2 separate regions of the Homo sapiens genome follow, and region 1 is linked to region 2. The links are contacts of gene promoters, found by promoter capture Hi-C in blood cells and fetal thymus (Javierre and others, 2016). All regions are on one chromosome and are shown on one strand. The core of a region is centred on a gene start or on the middle of the fragment in contact, and the rest is flanking DNA. Distances in the headings are between cores, read along the strand shown. Region 1 overlaps SIGLECL1 (SIGLEC family like 1). Region 2 holds the start of KLK9 (kallikrein related peptidase 9).

The links. The method cuts DNA at HindIII sites, captures the fragments that hold promoters and counts their contacts. A CHiCAGO score of 5 or more calls a contact.
Region 1: a contact is called between a fragment that was not itself captured here and the fragment with the promoter of KLK9 in region 2, in 1 of 17 cell types (naive CD4 T cells). The highest score is 5.5, in naive CD4 T cells.

The regions. Positions count from the first base shown.
Region 1 is chr19:51,257,182-51,261,413 of GRCh38, forward strand. All of the region lies in intron 1 of SIGLECL1 (SIGLEC family like 1), which reads left to right. The region is part of intron 2 of LOC107985327 (a long non-coding RNA gene); the gene reads right to left. Among named protein-coding and RNA genes, the nearest start is that of SIGLECL1, 8.2 kb to the left of the region's middle. The HindIII fragment of the contact is 1,490 bases long and covers 821-2,310 here.
Region 2 is chr19:51,006,473-51,011,048 of GRCh38, forward strand. KLK9 (kallikrein related peptidase 9) reads right to left here and starts at 3,120. Exons shown (of 5, transcript NM_012315.2): 1 at 3,033-3,120; 2 at 2,711-2,867; 3 at 1-251. The coding sequence starts at 3,075. RefSeq lists enhancers at 107-606, 3,003-3,503. The HindIII fragment of the contact is 11,592 bases long and covers 1-4,576 here.

The DNA of each region.
Region 1 (4,232 bases), core at 316-2,815, 250 kb after region 2:
GGACGGCTTGAGCCTAGGAGTTCAAGACCAGCCTGGGCAACATAACAAGATCCCATCTCTACATAAATTAAAAAATTAGTCAGGCATGGTGGCACATGCTTGTAGTCCCAGCTACTTGGGAGGCTGAGGTGGGAAGATTGCTTGAGCCTGGGAGGTCAAGCCTGCAGTGAACTGTGAATGCTCCGTTGCACTCCATCCAGTCTGGGTGACAGAGCAAGAAACTGTCTCAAAAAAAAAAAAAAGAAAAGAAAAGAAAGAAAACACTACCCCTGGTATACTCCCTTCCCCAAACACATCTCCCACTCTCAAACATAGAGATCGCTGCTATTCTGAATTTGACATTTTATTCTGTGTACTAAGGAACTTAACCTTGCCTGAAGAGAAGTCTGGCCTTTGCCCTTGGCTTCTGGAAGACACTCCCTAGCTCTTAGAATGTCACACCTCATAGGGGTGTCTTTGTTTGCCCAGGGACCTTGCATCACACTGAATATTCTAGAAATGTGATTTAGGATGAGGGCTGGCCACACCAGATAATGTTAACAATGTGATTTAGAGTGGAAGCAATACCAGATAGTCTAACAATGTGATTTAGAATAGGGGCTTTGGATCAAATGGTATCAGCTCAACTTCAGGAGGAGCTGGATGCTAAGATCCACCATGAGGGAAGTCACCATGTTACACGATGGAGGCCCAATAAAAACACTGGACACAAGGCTTGGGTGAGCTTCTTTAGTTGACAGTACTATGCATATTGTCACACATTATCACCAGGAAAGCTAAGTTATGCTGTCCATGACTCCACAGGGAGAGGATAACTAGAAGCTTTGTGTGGGGAACTTCTGGCCTCTGCCCTGTATGTCTTCCCTTGGCTGATTTTAATCTCTATCCTTTAGTTGTAGTAAACAGTAATCACGAGTATAACAGCTTTCAGTGAATTCTGTGAGTACTTCTAGTGAATTACCAAACCTAAGGGTAGTTTTGGGGTTCCAAAACCTTGCAAATGATTTGAGAAATGAGGGTAATCAGGGATCCTTGATATCTTCAGTTGGTGTCAGAAATGAGGGGATCTTGTGGACCATTCCCTAACTTTTCAGTTGTATCAGAAATGGGATTCACTAGAACAGCCCTGACTCACTGAAACATATGGTTTGAAAAGAGGAAGGATGTGAAGTCAAGATGATAAGCCTTTGATTCCTGGGCTGTCCTGCGGTCACCTGTGCGTATAGAAATGCAGCTGTTCTGCAAACAGTTACAGGAGGTAAAAGTTACCATTGCTTTTTCAATACAATGGATCCAACCCCCAAGGAGCTGACCCACTGGATGCATAAGGAAACAAACTAAATAGGCAGTCCCTTGGCTATTTTTATCTGTAATCGTTAAAATGAAAGTGGCTGAGGCGGATCCTGATGCTGGCCCAATCTTGGGCTCTGGCCAGCCTGAGCTACAGCTGCTAGCCTCAGGGCTGTGGCTAAAGGGAAAAGTTAGGCTGAAATGACAGATGGCAAAGAAAATTAGAGTGGTTCACCAGAGAGTGAGAAAAGACGAACATTTCCAAGAGGGTGGAAATCTTTATAAACAGTTATTAAGAAATGAGATGAGTTAAGTGGACATTGAGGGAGTCTAAACAAAGGTCTCAGTGGAGCACTCTTAGAAATTAGGTGGAGCAGTGAGAACCTAGACTTGCCCTCCAGTGTTGAAGGTCCCCCATCAAGTCTGCTATATTTACCCTAGTTTGGAGGAATTTTAGAAGCCAGAAGGCAAACATGACAATGGGAAATCTGACCTCAGATCTCCTGAGGGGACGAACATGTGATCTAATCAAGATAAATGACAAAAGGGCCTGGGTTGCTTGGCCTGACCCCTAACTGAAGACCCAAAGTCATATGCATATTAGTAGTAAAATAGTCAGGGGATGGATAAGAGATATTTCTGGGACTCATGTGGGAGTCTTATACCTGCATTCCAAAAGGTTGGTGAAATTCTAATAGCATCTATGGTTAGATTGCGAAGACATAGGATTACAAAGTGGATGAGATTCAGGCGAAACTTTGGATGAAAATTGGAATGTTTGGACAGACTATGTAAATATGTTATGTGAATGTATTTACCTAAATGTATTATGAGGAAAGATATTGTGTCCAACTATGGAAGAGTTCCCCTACGTACTATTATGAAACAGAAGGCATGTAAATCTTCCCTTCAACCAATATTGATTGAATATGCTAAATAGGAACCAATAAGATTGCCCAAGCCCACACTAATTGTTAATTTGAAACAGTACAGGATATCTGGTGGACAAAACATGTTAGAAGCTTAACGTTTGCTTTATTTAGGCAGACTGGAGCTAAGGCCAGTGAGCACCACCCAGTGGTGAATGCTGGGATTTGGGGCCAGAAAATTTCCAATGGAGAGACAACTAGCTGCCTATTGGGCTTTGAGTCTGCCCCATCATTGAAGGATATAATAATCCTGACACCTGAAATCCTCATGATGTGTTTGTCATGTTGGAAAAACACTGTAGTAAGGAAGGCCATGCCCAAAAGAGTCTCGTAATAAAATGGAAATTGTTTATACAGGAACATGCTACCAGGGAAATGCAAGGAGGTCCTCGTTATATTTATGAACAGGTGGCTTTTTCCCTACTGAAGAGCTGCGAGATCCTATTATTACTTGAATGATGTCTATTAATAGCTCTTGATTGACCAACTAAGAGCGGTTTGATTTATGGATGGCAATTCCAAAGTGAATTAATAACATCCTGTTTGGAAGACTGGCACTCATACTGAGGAAGGCAAAAACAAGTCACTTCAGTGGGCTGAACTGCCTCCACATTTGGGTTTTTACCAATTCATGGGCAGTGGCCAATGGCCTGGCCATATGGTCAGGCAGATGGGCAATGGGAAACTGTACTATTAAAAGGATGCCTATATAGGGTACAGCCTTATGGAATTCACTATAGCCAGTATCTCAAAAGACCTGTTCATACCCCCTACAAATGATAAAATAAACAGAGAAACAGACCTCTTCCTCCCAAAAAGGCAATTAATATCCTACCTTTTATGCTGGACATTTCTTGGCAACTTTTAAAGGATTTTTACTACTTGTGTGTGCGTTCTTAAACACTTGATTTTGCCCGGTTTTTTTCAAATTTTAAAGAAATGCTCATACATTATTACTTATTTGTGTCTGGCTTTGTTCATTCAATATTTTATTTGTAAGAATGGTCCATGTTGTTGCATCTAGCATTAGCTCATAGGTTTTTGTTGCTGTGTAGTATCTCATTTTTTAAAATTCTCTGTTTACTGGCATTTGGATTGTTTACCTTTTTAGCTATTTTTAAATAATACCACTGTAAACATTTTTGCATTCCTTTGTGGCGTACATATGCACAAACATTTCTATAAAGTATACATCTGGGAGTGGAATTGAGGGTCATAGAGTATGTGTATCTTCTGCTTTGATAAATAACTTTGTTGCCCTGATTTATATTTCCACCAATAGTGTGTGAAAGTTGAGTACCACATTCTCACCAAGACTTGATATATTGTCTTGGATATGTACTGGTATCTGATGGTTTTAACAGGCATTTTGCTGGTTATTAATGAGATTTTAAATATTTTCATGGAAATTTTATTAAGATTTGTCTTATGATCCAGCTGTGGCCAATTTCTGTAAACGTTCTCTGTGTGCTTACAAAGAAATTGTATTCTGCAGTTATTGATTGCAGTATTCTCTATATATTTTTGGTCAAATTTGCTGATCAAGTTGTTGAAATCTTTATATATTCCAATAGTCTGTTTGTTCTGTCAGTTTCTGAGAGAACAGTGATTAAAATGTCACACTACTATTGTGGATGTCTGTTTCTCCTTTTATTTTTGTAGATTTTTTGCTTTATATATTTTTGGACTATGTTAGTAGGCAAACACAAATTTTAAATATATACTTTATTCCTGTTAATGTCAGCTTATCATTAGGAGATATGCCATTCTATCTTTGGTAATGCCTTTTGCTTAAAGTCTGCTTTATGGGATGTTAATGTAGGTATGTCTACATTACCTGGCTTTCTGGTTGGTATTTGCTTGGTGTATGTTTTCATTCTTTGGTTTTTTCTTTTTTTCTTTTTTTGAGACGGAGTCTTGCTCTGTCGCCCAGGCTGGAGTGCAGTGGCATGATCTCGGCTCACTGCAAGCTCTGCCTCCCAGGTTCATGCCATTCTCCTGCCTCGGCCTCCT
Region 2 (4,576 bases), core at 1,870-4,369:
CGGCCCCCCAGCCTGAGATGAGACACTGCATGCCTGGGGAGACACAGGTCTGGCTGAGGTTGAGGGGCTGCACAGCAGGACTCAGACGTGCCTGCCTGGGCAGGCGGATCAGCATGATGTCATCATTGTGGTCATTGGCGCTGAGGTCCTTGTTGAAGCCAGGGTGGGGGAAGAAGTCCGTAACCCGGAACAGCTGCTCCGGACCCTCCCATTTCCAGAGGTGGTGCTCTCCAAGGCGGACCCACAGATACCTGCTGGGACAGGCCTCAGAGGTCAAGCTGGGGGAAAGGTAAAAGTCCTTTCAGCCCCAGCCCTCTTTTCCTGTCCATCAGGGTGCTGTGTGACCCTCTGCAAGCCACACACCCTCTCTGCACCCTCATCATCTATGTCTGGCCCAGGGTACTGTGATTTTAAGCGAGGCACACACCTCCTCTGGGTCCCTGGTCCCCACTCTGATGTTTTGTGTGTCTCCATCTTTGTAGCTCTCCCCACAAAGCCCCCGCTCCTAGTCCCAGGCTGAGTGAGCCACCTTCCTCCCTACTCACCTGGAGCCTTGGTGGTGACTTGGGTCCCTAGGAACGGTGTGGGCACGGGGGACCCCACCTACCACATAACAACCGCCCCACCCCTGCCCCCACAGGTCTGGTGGCTTCTGTGGGAGCGGCTCTGTATGTCTAAGTGGTGTGTGTGTATACGTGTGCGTGTGTATGAAAGGGGATGGGATATGGAAAATCCCCAAATTGGGGGTCATCTCTGGCCTCAGCTTTTCCTGTCTATCATATCCTTCACCCTTCAATGCATGTCTTCCTGGTGTCTAACCTTAAGCCCTCACCACAGTCTCAGCGCACTTGTTTCATTTCTGGTCCATGCCCTAGACAGCTGGGATCCTTTCGGGGATGACAAGTCCATTCCCCAGCCTCTGACCTCTGACATTAGGCAGCAGGCTAATGACTGCGAATTCAGGGTTGGGGAACCAGAAACATCTGTGTCTGTCTCTCTCTGTCATTCTTGCTGTCTTGGCTCTGGATCTGGAAAAGTAGTCCTCACCCCTACATCCCTTCATCCCCCTACCCTTCCCCTGCCTCTCACTCTCTTCCACCTTCATATCTCTGCATTTCTCCTGCTTCACTTTCGGCTGAAATCTGAACATCGTTCTCCCAGTCTGATGTATAGGCTTAAGTTAAAGGAGGTTCCATCATGGAGCAATGCATGATGGGAAATTCCCACACAGCATCTCTTACCACAATCAGTGCTTTACTCATGGAGGGAAGAAAATTGGAACAGTATGGATGGTCACTTTTCAGAGGCAATGGAGAGAGGATTCCTGCATCAGGTGGATTCCAGGATACTATTAGAATGCCCAGAACCTAAGATTCTAGAATTCTCAGATTCCGACACACTATTATCCATGATTCTAGAATCTAGAGGCTCAAGGTTTAGAGTTTTATGAATCCAAGATTCTAACATTCCAGATTCCCCTGGATCAAAAAAACTCCAGGATTCTAACATTATCTGAATTAAATCTAAGATTTGAACATAGAATTTTAATGTTCTAGGACAAAAAGACTAGAATTTTGGCTGGGCGCGGTGGCTCACGCCTGTAATCCCAGCACTTTGGGAGGCCGAGGCGGGCAGATCACAAGGTCAGGAGTTCAAGACCAGCCTGGCCAATATGGTGAAACCCCCGTCTCTACTAAAAAAAAAAAAAAAAAAAAAATAGCCTGGCATGGTGGTGCATACCTGTAATCCCAGCTACTCAGGAGGCTGAGGCAGGAGAATTGCTTGAACCCGAGAGGCAGAGGTTGCAGTGAGCTGAGATTGTGCCACTGCACTCCAGCCTGGGAGATAGAGGGAGACTCTGTCTCAAAAAAAAAAAAAAAAAAAAAAAAGAAAGACTAGAATGTCATCATTCTATAAATCTATAACCTTAGAAATTTAAGAGTCTGGGATTCAAATAGTTTAAGACTACAGAATTATCTGAATCTCAATATTCTAGGATACTGTGAATCAAAGATTCTAGTACTGTGAGTTTCAATATTCAATGAATCTAGAAAGCTCTGAATTTAAGATTCTAGGATCACACTAGCCATTATGGCTATTGAACACTTGAAATGTGGCTAGTCCATTTTGTAACAGGCTATGTGTGTAAAATACAGAACAGATTTCAAAGGCTTAGTACCAAAACAAAAGTAAACTGTATCGTTCATACGTATTTAAAAATTGATTACATGTCAAAATAAGTTTTTGGGTATGTCAAGTTAAATCTATTAGAATTAATTTTACTCATTCCTTATTTTTTAAATGTGTCCACCAGAAATTTAAACTTACACATGTGGCTGGCATCATAATTCCTCTGGGCAGTGCTGACCCAGACTGCTAAGATTCTAATAGTCTGCGAATCTATGATTCTAAAATTTGCTGAGGCTATTGCAGAATTTCATAAATTCAAGATTTTAGGATTCTACGATTCTGGATTTCTCTGGGTCAGTCTCGGATTCGAAGAGCCTAAGTTTCGAATCTTAGACTTCTCAAATGAGATATTGCTGGTCTCTAGAATTTTAGGATTTGGGAGGCTACCCTTCCTACTTCTAAGAGTTGAACTTGTGGTATCAGAAGTGGAGGCTCCGCACTTCTGGCCTAAAGCACCCCTCACCCTCTCCTGACCCCCAGCCTCTGTCCCTCCCCAGCATGGCCAGCCTGGGTCACTCACGGCTTGCGGCAGTGGGCAGCTGTGAGCAGCCAGCGGTCACTGATGAGGGTCGCCCCACAGAAGAGCCGAGTAAGGTGGAAGAGGCCGGCCTGCCAAGGCTGGGAGTTGGGGCGACATTCCTCGGCCCCGATGGCACGGGTGTCTGCCCAGCCATGCCCTGGGGTGGGGATGAGGGACAAAGGGGTCAGCGAAGAGCAGGCTGGGAGGGCAGGGAGAGGATGCTGAGAAGCCTAGAGGGCAGGAGGCAGAAGCCTGGGATGGGAGGGAAGAGCAAGGTGACCTTAGTACAGCCGTGAAGGGGCAGCCAGCCTGGGAGCCTCACCTGCCAGCAGAGAGAGCAGAGCACAGAGGAGTCCCAGCTTCATGACCCCTGGGCACCTGGATCCTGGAACGTGCACCCGGCGTCCAGTGCTTCTTTATGGTAAGCCATGCCATCTCCTTCCTCCTCCATGGGGCCGCCCCTGTGATTAATCGGGGTTGGGAAATGTACCTGGGGGAGGGGGAAGCCCTGGGGCTGTGACAGGGGCCTTGGGAGAGGAGGTAAGTGCAGGGGGACCCCCCTTTTGGGATGAACTGGCGGCTTGCTGGGCCAGAGCTTGACTGAATGGAGGAGGAGTGCTGGGGGTGTGGAGAGGTTGTGGGCACCTCCTCTGGGGTCTTCAGAGTGGGAGACCTCATTCCTCATCACCTTAGGCTACAAGATACAGAATCTTTTGTGTCCTGGAAAAGGAGGGAGATCCTTGAAGCCTAAGGTCCTGGGGTGCAGCAGGTTTATTTTGGATAAAGCAGTGGTGTGCAGAGACCAACCTCCCACGGCAGGCTGGAGGGATGTGCAGGGGGACCACCCAGAAAGGAGGCGAGGGGTGGAAGACAGAGTCAGGACTCAGACACAAGAGCAAAAGATACAAAGAGAGGGAGGTACAGGCACAGAAGGACCCAAGATGAGAGGAGGAGTGGGAGGAGGAGACAGAACACGGGAAAGATTGAGGGAAATCCAGGTGGAGTGAGGCAGAGACCACAGGCAGCTGCACAGGTTTACACACCTTGCAGAACCTTCCCTGCCCTGGGGATTTGGGCCTCTTCCCACAAGGACAAGGCCCTCTCCTAGAATGTTGAGAAATCTGGTTCCATCTGGATTAACCCACTCTTGTCATAACCTGCCCCCTTCCCCACGGCTCCACCACCCAAGGACCCAGGTGCCCAACCTTCCAGGTAGCAAGTGCCCTGTGCTCTCTCTTAATACATCCTGATCTTTGCCAAATCCTGAGAACATTTGCTATATATTTTTTTCATCCATCTCCCTGCCCCCCACCCCATTGTCCCTTCCATCACCCCATCCTCCCTGCCTCTCTCCTCATCATTCCTTCTCACCAGGTGGACAGCTTCTGGAGGGCTGGGCCCAGGTCTGACTCATCTCTGTGTCCCAGCATCACCCCGTTCCAGGCGGAACAGGGCTTGCAGAAGTCCTCAGGAGATGTTCATTGAATGAGTGAATGTCTTTCTCCATATCCTTCTTTTCCTGGTGAACTCCCACTCATCCTTCAACACCCAACCTCAATTCTCCCTCCTCCAGGAAATCTCTGAGATCCTCAGGCAGAGTCCATCTTTGCCTCCCCTGGGCACTTACGATCCCTTCCACTTTCTCCTGCTCACAGGCCTGGTTATGAAGCTGGGTCTGGGCTCCCCTTGAATGTTCTCTCACTGTGTCGTCATGGTTTGGAGCATGGACTCTGGAACTGAACCATGTGTGTCCAAATCTCAATGATTAGGTGTGATTAGTGATGAGGTGTGTGACTTTGGGCAAGTCACAAGACCTCTCTCAGTTGCTCCATCTGTTTTTTGTTTGTTTGTTTGTTTGTTTGTTTT